Linked DNA regions of Homo sapiens: regions 1 and 2 are each linked to region 3. Evidence: promoter capture Hi-C in human tissues and cell types (Jung and others, 2019). All regions are on one chromosome and are shown on one strand. The core of a region is centred on a gene start or on the middle of the fragment in contact, and the rest is flanking DNA. Distances in the headings are between cores, read along the strand shown. Region 1 overlaps FAM120A (family with sequence similarity 120 member A). Region 2 overlaps FAM120A (family with sequence similarity 120 member A). Region 3 holds the start of WNK2 (WNK lysine deficient protein kinase 2).

Region 1 (3,299 bases), core at 199-2,698, 310 kb after region 3:
CATTTGGAACCCTCAAGCAGGGGGTTTGGAGTGATCGAGGACTGGCCTCTGGCACGGGTGACATTAGGCCACCACAGGCTTGGGGTGCTAGCCACATCTTGGATCTGGCCATTCTATGGACCTCACCCTGGGCTGAATACCTTTGGGCCGACTCCTCTTTTCTTCCCACTGTGCGTCATGAACGTGAAGGCCACCACAGCAGTGCATGCCCAGATCACCCAGGGTTTCCATAGTTTCACTGCCACTAGTCCCATGATTCTGTACATCAGTAGTACTGCTGCCTACAGGGGGGCCAGCAGCAGCTGAGTAGGCATTGTGTGGTGGGCAGCAGGCCCTCCGTGGCTGCCAAGGGTTTGCCGCCACTTGCCAGTGGCCTGTGGGCCACAACTGACCACTTAGAACCCTGTGGAGGGTACCATCTCTAACACAAACAAGGGCTGCCATATTAGATGTGTGAGAATTAATACAGTACTATACATAAAACACTTAAAAGAGTGTCTAGCTAAGATATGTTAGCTAATATACCACCATGATCCTCAACAACAACAAAATAACAGTAACCTAATACACCGTTATAACTCACTGGAACATGTCCCTGTTTTGTGCATTCCTCATGCACAGACTTGGAAAGGCAGAGGCACTTACCAAAGGGGACTCTGCTGTTCTGCAGCCACCTTGTGACATACATGGAGGCTTTGAGAGCAGGGGCCTGGAGGGGAATGATAGAGAAGTCATGTCAATTTTAGGTTTTCCAGTACATGTAATAGAAATGTTTACACAGTACTGTAGTCTATTAAGAGTGTAATGGCATTATGTCTGAAACACAAGATACATCCCTTAATCAAAAATACTTTCAAATGCTATGATCGCTTGAGTCTACAGCGAGTTGGAATCATTTTGCTGGTGGAGGGTCTTGCTGATGGCTGCTGACTGATAAGGGTGGTGGTTGCTGGAGGTTGGGGTGGCTGTGGCCGTTTCAGGAAATTGGACAACATTCAAGTTTGTCACATCAATTGACTCTTCCTTTCATGAAAGATTTCTCTATAGCCTGCAATGTTATTTGATAGCAGTTTACCCACAGTAGAAATGTTTTATGAAATTGGAGTTAATCTCAAACCCTGCCACTGCTTTATCAACTAAGCTTATGTCCTATTCTAAATCCTTTGCTTTTATTTTGATATCTTTGATAGCATCTTCACCAGAAGTAGATTCCATCTCAAAAAGGTGCTTTCTTTGCTTGTCCATAACAAGTACTTCTTCATTTATTCAGGATTTATCATGAGATTTCAGCAATTTGGTTACATCTTCAGGCTCCACTTCTAATTCTGATTCTCTTGCTATTTCCACCACATCTGCAGTGACTTCCTCCACTTAAGTCTTAAACCCCCTCAAAGCCATTCACGAGGGTTGGAATCAACCAAGTCTTCCAAGCTCCTGTTAAGGTTGATATTTTGACATCCTCCCATGAATCATGAATGGTCTTAATGGCATTCACTTACTAGAGTAGTGAATTCTGTCCAGAAGGTTTTCAATGTGCTTAGCCCAGATGCATCAGAGGAGTCATTTTCTATGGCAGTTCTAGCCTGATGAAATGTATTTCTTTAATAATAAGACTTGAGTGTCAAAATTACTCCTTTATCCATTATGGGTTGTGGAATGAATGTTGTGTCAACAGGCATGAAGACAACATTCCTTTCCTTGTATGTTAACATGCAAGGGCTGGTCCCTCTGCAGGCTCTCGGGAGGATCCCAGCCCGTCCAGCCTCGAGCATCTGAGGCCCTGTCATGCTGCATCACTGCCTCCTTTCTCCACATTTTGAGGACCCTGTGATTCCCTTGGGCTTGTCTGGGTAATCCAGGACAGGATTCTTATTTGGAGGTCAGCTGACAGGCAGCCTTCATTGAATTTTGCCACGCAATGCAGCATATTCGCAGGTTCTGGAGAGGAGGATGTGGACAGCTTTGGGAGGTCATTGTCCTGCCTACCGCAAAGCTCTTATTAGGTGGCTGGTCTTCTTTTTCAACCTGTTAACTTACGTTTTTCTAGTGTCAGCTGTTTTTGGCTAATGAGATGTTCCTACTCTTTATTTGATATTCTTTGTCACTTTCCTCAAACATGCCCCTCAACAGGCAGTGATACCATTTTTCTCCAGTTAGAGCTGAAGTTGGCCTTTGAAGGTGGATTCAAGGACTTGGTAACTGCATTTCTGCTTACAGTTTCAGGGAGTCCTGGGCTCTAATCTAAAGATTCTACTTGTGCAGGCCTTCATCTTTGTTGGTTGGTGTTGAAAGAAAGGGAGCGAATGGTGGCTCCAGGCCTTCTCTCTGGGCTGCTTTGTGCTTCGCTTGTTATGGGTGCAGGTCCTGGCCTTGGAATTAATCGCAAACAAGTCTTGGACTTCTCAGAAGTGGTGGAAGACTGTCAGATGCTCTTTTCACCCAACACAGTTTAAGCAGCTGAGTTGTATTTCATCCACTGAAAGGAAAATCCAGTTCTTGAGCTTCAGAACGTGAACGGCTTAGGAAAGTCTTAGGGCCAAGATCTTACAAGTGGACAATCATTGGGCACTGATAAGATCTTAGATGGTAGCTCCTTGTTGAATTTCTGGCTCCTGCATTCAGATTAGCCTGGTACTGGTTGCTCACCATCCACTGTTGACACTTACGTTTGTTTTCTCAGGTCCGGGCCCACCAGCTGGTCTTGCCACCTTGCGACGTAGTGATCAAAGCCGTTGCTGACTATGTACGCAACATTCAGGACACCTCTGACTTGGATGCCATAGCTAAAGATGTTTTCCAGCATTCACAGGTAAAAAAAAAAACAAACAAAACAAAAAAACAGATTCATGGGATATGACGTTGCATAGTGGTGTGGCCAGGTTTGGAAGAAGGGGACTTGAGGGTGCAAGCTGACTGGATGGGTCTGAGAGCTCTTGCTCAGGCCACTGGAAGAAAGCTGCAGGTTGCAAGGCCAGAGGCTGAGGTAGCCTGGTCATGTTCCCTGCCAGCCAGGAAGTCTCAGCCACTTCACCCAGCTTTTCCAGGCTGAATAAAAGGGAGATTCAGTTAGACGGTTGGTGAGGTCTCCTGCTCATAAGTTCTCGATCTTAACTTAATAGGATCTGTATTTCAGAGTTTTCAGAACATGAACTGTATCAAGTCAGTCATATGGCATTATAAATCTCTGATTTGTCTGTTTTCTTCAGGTGATTGTCAGGGATTTTCTTCTTTTTTGGGGAAGTAGGTGTGCCAACAAGTTGGCATCAGTAGAATAGGCAAGGCTCTGTGAAACTCCTGCT
Region 2 (2,952 bases), core at 115-2,614, 290 kb after region 3:
AGGATGGGCCTTTTCACATATGTTTGTGGGTGGTGATGGAAATTATGGGAGAAGGGTGTTGATTCATGTTACAATCAGCAGTCATTGTCATTTAATCTTGCTAAGAAAGGTTTTATAATTGTGCAGATTTCACATTTGGTGTTTTTATGTAATTTTGAACCGTAGCTATTTCATGAACAGATGAAAGCTTGAACCATAGTCATTTCATGAACAAATGAAAACTTGAATCTAATTGGTATTTGATATCCTGACATTGTCAGACTGACCTTTTGCAAACTGGTGTTTATTTTTAATACTGTGCTGTGAAGTTGTTTCAGTTTTATGCAGTTCTTAGGTTGAATGCTGTTGGGACTGCACTAGAAATTCCCGTCATTCTTGAAGCAGCTGCAAAGATTCTGCCTGCTGTATGTCGCTTTATGTTAAGAGATGAAGATTTGTTCTCAGTTTCTGTTTGAAAGTTTTCTACTATAGGTGACAATATGCAGCACTTTTGAAAGTTTCCCTATGTTACTTAAGATGATTGCTTTTATGTTATCCATGTTTATATTCCAGGAAATCACATTCTGCCTGATGAAGATCTGGCTTCCTTTCACTGGAGTTTACTTGGTCCAGAACATCCACTAGCCTCACTAAAGGTACAAATTTCACTTTATTTTTCTAGCATTTGTAATAATCAACTGTGAGTTTGCTATTACTTTAATAACATGTTAGGCCCTTTATTGGTGATGCTACAAAGTTAGCAATACCATGTTTTCCCATAATTTCAGGATCTGCACTGCCTTAAAAAGCAAGCAACAATGCTACCATCCCTTGTTCTCAACACCTATATGTTAGGTAAATGTATAAATGTCCTTGAAAATTTCCCTTAAGGAATTCTTTGTGCTGTGTACCTAGATAGAAGGAAATCTTTGAGCTGATGTTTTATATATTAATTTTCTTACTTAAAAATTTTAATTTTGTCTTTAGGTAGTATAGTTACTTGTCACTTAGAGCAACATCTTTGCATAGTTGATAAATTTCATAACTAATTTTCTACAATTATAAAATAGTTTATAAAGCTTTTTGGATGATGAGGGAGACTCAAATGGAAGTGATCCATTTGTACTATTTTATTAAAACTTAATATTCTTTTTCTCCCTTTTGATTCCCTTCCTGTTTGTGATAGTAATAAACATCAGAGATGAGGCACTTAATTCTGATTTTCTGCAGTGGAAGTGTCTGTGTTTGATGTGAGCATAGGAGTAATGAGTGAGATATGCACGAGGCACTGGAAAACTTCAGCTTGGACTTGTTAGTGACTCCTGTGATTGTAATGATCATTTGTCAGTTCAAGTGCCTTTCTTGACTTGGGGAATTAGGAAGATGGGGACCTAGACTTTGTATCTGCTTCCCACCCTGGGACTGCTTCCTTACAGTAAAGAGTGGCGGTTAAATTGGGTGTTTTCCGAAGGGCTGTAAAATTTTGAATGTTGTCGTAATTACCCTCCCTCCATAAACAATTTTAATTGGTGGCTAGTTTCAAATGGGAGTTTTTCTTCCTACATTTTAATTTACCTTTAACTCTGGTGATACCCAAAAGCTGAAGTAGAATTCCTTTCCTCCTTTCATTTTGTTCCCTGCTGTTTCATCTCTGGCATGCTTTTTCTTTTTCATCTCTGGCATGCTATAAAATGTTCTCCTTTTCACCCTAATGGGGTTTGGTATGGACTGTTTTCAACTTCTTGTTCAAAAATTAGTTTTTCTTCTCTTGTTAGAAATTACATTTCTGGCCATAGAATCCCTCCTGTATGTTTTCATGAATGAAGTGATGTGATCTGTCATTCGGACTCTAAGCTTCTGGTGATGCCATGATTGAAATGTGGATTGGGGAAATGCAGCGTGTAATCAGCTGGACTTAAGAGCACTGCACCTGTGCTCAGTAGCTCTGTTAAGCATTATGCTTTTGTAAGTGAGACACAAATGAAAGCTTGTTTCCTACAAGATTTATTTTGTTTTGAAGAGCAGGAGTGAGATACTCCCAAGGTTTCTGGCTATATGTGTATGTCTAAGTTAAACTAGCCCTGCTTCATATGTCACAGGGTTAGAAGTGAAGAGCTGTTTGAAGAATTATTGGAAAACCAGCTCAATCTATTGCCAAGTGAATAACATCATTATATGTGTGTTTTTCCTAAATTTTGTTGAGAAAATCTTTAAGTATTGAAATGTGGAAAGAATAGAGAAATGTGTATCCGTATATCCCCCATCTTGGTTCAACAATTATAAACATTTTGCCATAAAGTATATGTCTGTGTTTTGTTTTGTTTAACAAAAACTATTTGGAAGTAAGTTGCAGATATGACACTTTACCCATGAAAATGTCAGCTTGCTCCACCACTTCAGCTTGCTCCATCACTTCCTAAAAATAAGGACATTTTGATACTTTATCATATTACTCCTATGACATCAACTAAATTAATAATTCTTTAATATCTTTTTTTTTGAGACAGGGTCTTGCTCTGTCACCTGTGCTGGAGTGCAGTGTCTAATATCATTTAATATTAAGCCCATATTCAAATTTTTTCAGAGTCATTTATAGGTTTTTTTTTTTTTGATCGAGATCCAGTCAAGCTTTATGCATGCATTTTGATATTAGCTGAGTACTTTTATGGCATATTGGAGAAGAAATCCTAAATTATTTTTCAGATGACTTGATACGTTGTAGGATTTTAAAGTCACACATGAAATGCAAGTGCACCTGGTTTTGAGATAAGTTCAGAAATTGCATTTGTTAGCCACTTTAATGTTTTTATTTGAGACAGAGTCTTGCTCTGTCACCCAGGATGGAGTACAGGGGTGAGATCTCGGCTCACTGCAACCTCTGCCTCCAGGGTTCAAGTGATTCTCCTGCCTCAGCCTTCCAAGTAGCTGGGATTACAGGCGCCTGCCACCACGCCAGCTAATTTTTGTGTTTTT
Region 3 (3,340 bases), core at 816-3,315:
TGTGTAAGCAGAGATGCGTGAATTCACCCCAAGGGCTCAGAGAGCACACAGTACTCTCTCAGGGACAGGCTGTCCCCCACTCCCCACAGCCTGGGCTGCTCCCTGCTGATTTGTGGGTGTAGCCATCCTTTCCCACGCATGTGTACAAGTGTGGGTGGGCAGCAGCCATGGGTGCTGATGAACCTTCTCCGATGCTGGCAGGTATTTTGCCCACACACTGCCAGTGTGGCCTGTTGGGAGCAGGAGGAGGCCAGATAGGTGTGTGCTGGTCTCAGAACACGCTTAGCTCTGTCCCATCCTGGTTTTCCCTTGGATAGGCTTGAACACACCCATCATGAACAGGTCTGTGGACTTGGTGCCCTTCCTAGATTGACTGAATCTACAAGGAATTGGCAGCCTTTTAAGGTGGGCAAGTCAGGATGATCAGCCCACTCTGCAGGGCCAGATACTGAGGCTCAGGAAGGACCAGGACTTGCCCAAGTTCACTCAGCTGGTTAGGGGCAAGGTTGGGGGGTCTTTAGCCTCCAAAGGGAAGACAGAAAAGATCCTTTTCCACCCCTGACCTCTACCTGGAAGACTCCTGCCCCAGGAGATGCAACTTAGATCCCTGTCCCTCAGGCCTCTCTGTCCTGCAGAGCTGGCGTCTGCTGTTTGGCCTCCTCCTCGTGTGAGCTCTGGGCTCATGCCAGCGGACTTGAGCCCCGGAATGAATGCCTGTCTCACACGGTAGATTAGATTATATAAATAACAGGCAAGTGCCAAATGCATAGCCCTACACCTAGCACACTATTTAACCACTGGCTCTCTGGGGAGAAAAGTCCTGATTTGAGGTGTTTGCCAATTTCCGCAGTGTAAATACTCCCAGCATTGCTGACTTCAGGCTACAGGGTGGCATTGCTGAACCCAGAGCTGGGAAGGGATGTTCACTGTTGCCCCTCACAAATTAGTTTCAGCCAGTGCCAGTGCCCAGCGGGGCTCCAGGAAGTCCTGCTTCTCTGGGTAACAGTTGGCCTGGCATATTCTTCCCTCTACATTGTGAAGGTGAGATATCGCCTCTGCTGGCTTTTATGCCACATGAGTTATTTTGTGCCAGGGGCTCCAAGGCCTACAGGCCCACAAGCATCTTTTCATCTCTGGAAGTGTGTGTGTATCTGATGGGGGTGCCAGCCCAGTGGGATGGGGACTGAGATGAGAATACTCTGGTATCTCCCTTGTGCCTCAGTTTCCTCACCTAGGATCATGGAGGCTGGGGTAAGGGTGAAGTGTTAGCTCAGGGCATTGCCTGGAGCAGGGCTCAGAACTTAGCAGTATGGTTACTGACACAGGTCACCTGCTGCATTAGGGCCAGAGACGCCCAAGAGAGGGCTTGTCCGTGGGGGTCTAGAGGAGGAAGGAGCTAGAGATCATGGAAGACTTCTCGGGAGAGGTGGCATCTGGCAGAGGTGGGAAGGAAGAACACTTTGGGTCAAGGGGCTTCTGGAAGCCTCTCCATATCCCATCCAAGGCATTCCAGCTCAGCTTCGGTCTTGAAAGTTCTGGGATTTAGAGCATATAACTTCTGCCTTTGGCGCCTCAGTTTGCTCTAGACTGTGAAATGGGCATAATGATCACCAGTGCCTCCCTGGGTGATGATGAGGTCCTCATGGTTCCTGGTGGTGAAGTGAGGGCAGGAAAGGACACGCTGAGCCCCACCAGGCTTAGCCCCAGGCTGGGCTCCCGAGGGCGGCGGTACCCCTGGTCCTTTTCTTCCTAGCCTGCCCATTCTGTCCTGGCACAGGGCCTTGAGGTCTAGCGCGCCGGGCTGCGGCGTGCTGAGGCGTTGAGCCTGCTGCCTCCTCTCAGGAAGAAACGGGGTCCTCCGCAGCTGACAGCCCTGCGGGGCGTTCCAAAGAACTTCAGAGGACAGGAGCGCTACCTCGAGCAAAGAACCGCGGGTGGGAGCCCAGGTAGCCGGCCCGCAGGTGGCCGCGCGCGCCTGCCAGTCAGCCAGCCCGTCCGCAGCCAGGTGGGCGTGCCAGGCCCAGCCCCCTGCGCCGGTCCGGGGCGGGGCGAACGGAGCCCCGCCCTCCCCGCGCGCCGGGTCGGAGCCGGTGCGGGAGCGGAGCCGCGCGAAGCCGGCAGGAGCACGCGGGAGCGCGGCCCCGCAGTGGCCCGGCCCGAGAGAGCAGCGCGCAGGAGCTGGAGCGGCGCCACGGCCCCCACCCCAGCGCGGACCTCGCCCGGAACTCGGACCCCGTCCTCGAAGCGTGATCTCTCCCGCCTCGCACGCCCTGGCCGCCGGGCCGCGGGCATGGACGGCGTCCGCTCGCCCTGTGAGTGCCGAGCCTCCCCTCAACGCCGCTCGCCGCCTTTGTGTGCGCGCCGCGGCGCTGCAGCCCCCTCCCCGCGCGCCCCTCCCGCGCCCCGGGCCCGCGTCCTTTGTGGAGCCGCCGCCGGGCCACTGCCTTCCTCCCACCCCCGGGCTTCCCTATCCCCTTTACAGCTGCCTCCGGGACAGCCTAGCAGAACCCTCCTGGGCCAGGGCTGGGCAGGGCGCGAGATCCCTCTGCCGGCCTCCGGGGCCCTCAGGGACACCCTAGCAGGTCCTCTCTCCCAGGGTTCCAGGGACACCACAGGCCCGTCCCTCTCCGCAGCCTGGGGCTGAGCAGGGCACGGACCCCTCCTCCCCAACCCAAGCCTCTGGTCCCGTCTGCAGCCCCCCTTTCCCAGGGCCCCCAGAGACGGCCCCCGCAGGCTCTCTCCGCGGCCGGGGCTGGGCAGGTTGCGGGCTTAGGGCGGCGTTGTCTCATCCGGCGGCCTGGGCAGGTGCGGCAGGGCCGGCGCTCACGCGGGCCTGTGTGTCCTTGGCCCACAGAGATGGACGGCGATGGCGGCCGCCGAGACGTCCCCGGCACGCTGATGGAGCCCGGGCGCGGCGCGGGGCCCGCGGGCATGGCGGAGCCTCGGGCGAAGGCGGCGCGGCCGGGGCCCCAGCGCTTTCTGCGGCGCAGCGTGGTAGAGTCGGACCAGGAGGAGCCGCCGGGCTTGGAGGCAGCCGAGGCGCCGGGCCCGCAGCCCCCGCAGCCCCTGCAGCGCCGGGTGCTTCTGCTCTGCAAGACGCGCCGCCTCATCGCGGAGCGCGCCCGCGGACGCCCCGCCGCCCCCGCGCCCGCAGCGCTGGTAGCGCAGCCGGGAGCCCCCGGAGCCCCCGCGGACGCCGGCCCCGAGCCCGTGGGCACGCAGGAGCCCGGCCCGGACCCCATCGCAGCCGCTGTCGAAACCGCGCCTGCCCCCGACGGCGGCCCCAGGGAGGAGGCGGCGGCGACCGTGAGGAAGGAGGATGAGGGGGCGGCCGAGGCGA

What was found. The method cuts DNA at HindIII sites, captures the fragments that hold promoters and counts their contacts. A contact is called where the count stands out against the background at its distance.
Region 1: a contact is called between a fragment that was not itself captured here and the fragment with the promoter of WNK2 in region 3, in 2 of the 25 tissues and cell types used here (dorsolateral prefrontal cortex and spleen).
Region 2: a fragment that was not itself captured here is called in contact with the fragment with the promoter of WNK2 in region 3 in 2 of the 25 tissues and cell types used here (dorsolateral prefrontal cortex and spleen).

The regions. Positions count from the first base shown.
Region 1 is chr9:93,494,791-93,498,089 of GRCh38, forward strand. FAM120A (family with sequence similarity 120 member A) reads left to right here. Exons shown (of 18, transcript NM_014612.5): 4 at 2,681-2,809. It also overlaps the pseudogene LOC100419516. Among named protein-coding and RNA genes, the nearest start is that of FAM120AOS, 43 kb to the left of the region's middle. The HindIII fragment of the contact is 5,712 bases long and covers 1-3,299 here.
Region 2 is chr9:93,475,704-93,478,655 of GRCh38, forward strand. FAM120A (family with sequence similarity 120 member A) reads left to right here. Exons shown (of 18, transcript NM_014612.5): 3 at 553-635. Among named protein-coding and RNA genes, the nearest start is that of FAM120AOS, 24 kb to the left of the region's middle. The HindIII fragment of the contact is 3,682 bases long and covers 1-2,952 here.
Region 3 is chr9:93,182,074-93,185,413 of GRCh38, forward strand. WNK2 (WNK lysine deficient protein kinase 2) reads left to right here and starts at 2,066. Exons shown (of 30, transcript NM_006648.4): 1 at 2,066-2,312; 2 at 2,855-3,340. The coding sequence starts at 2,857. The HindIII fragment of the contact is 13,924 bases long and covers 1-3,340 here.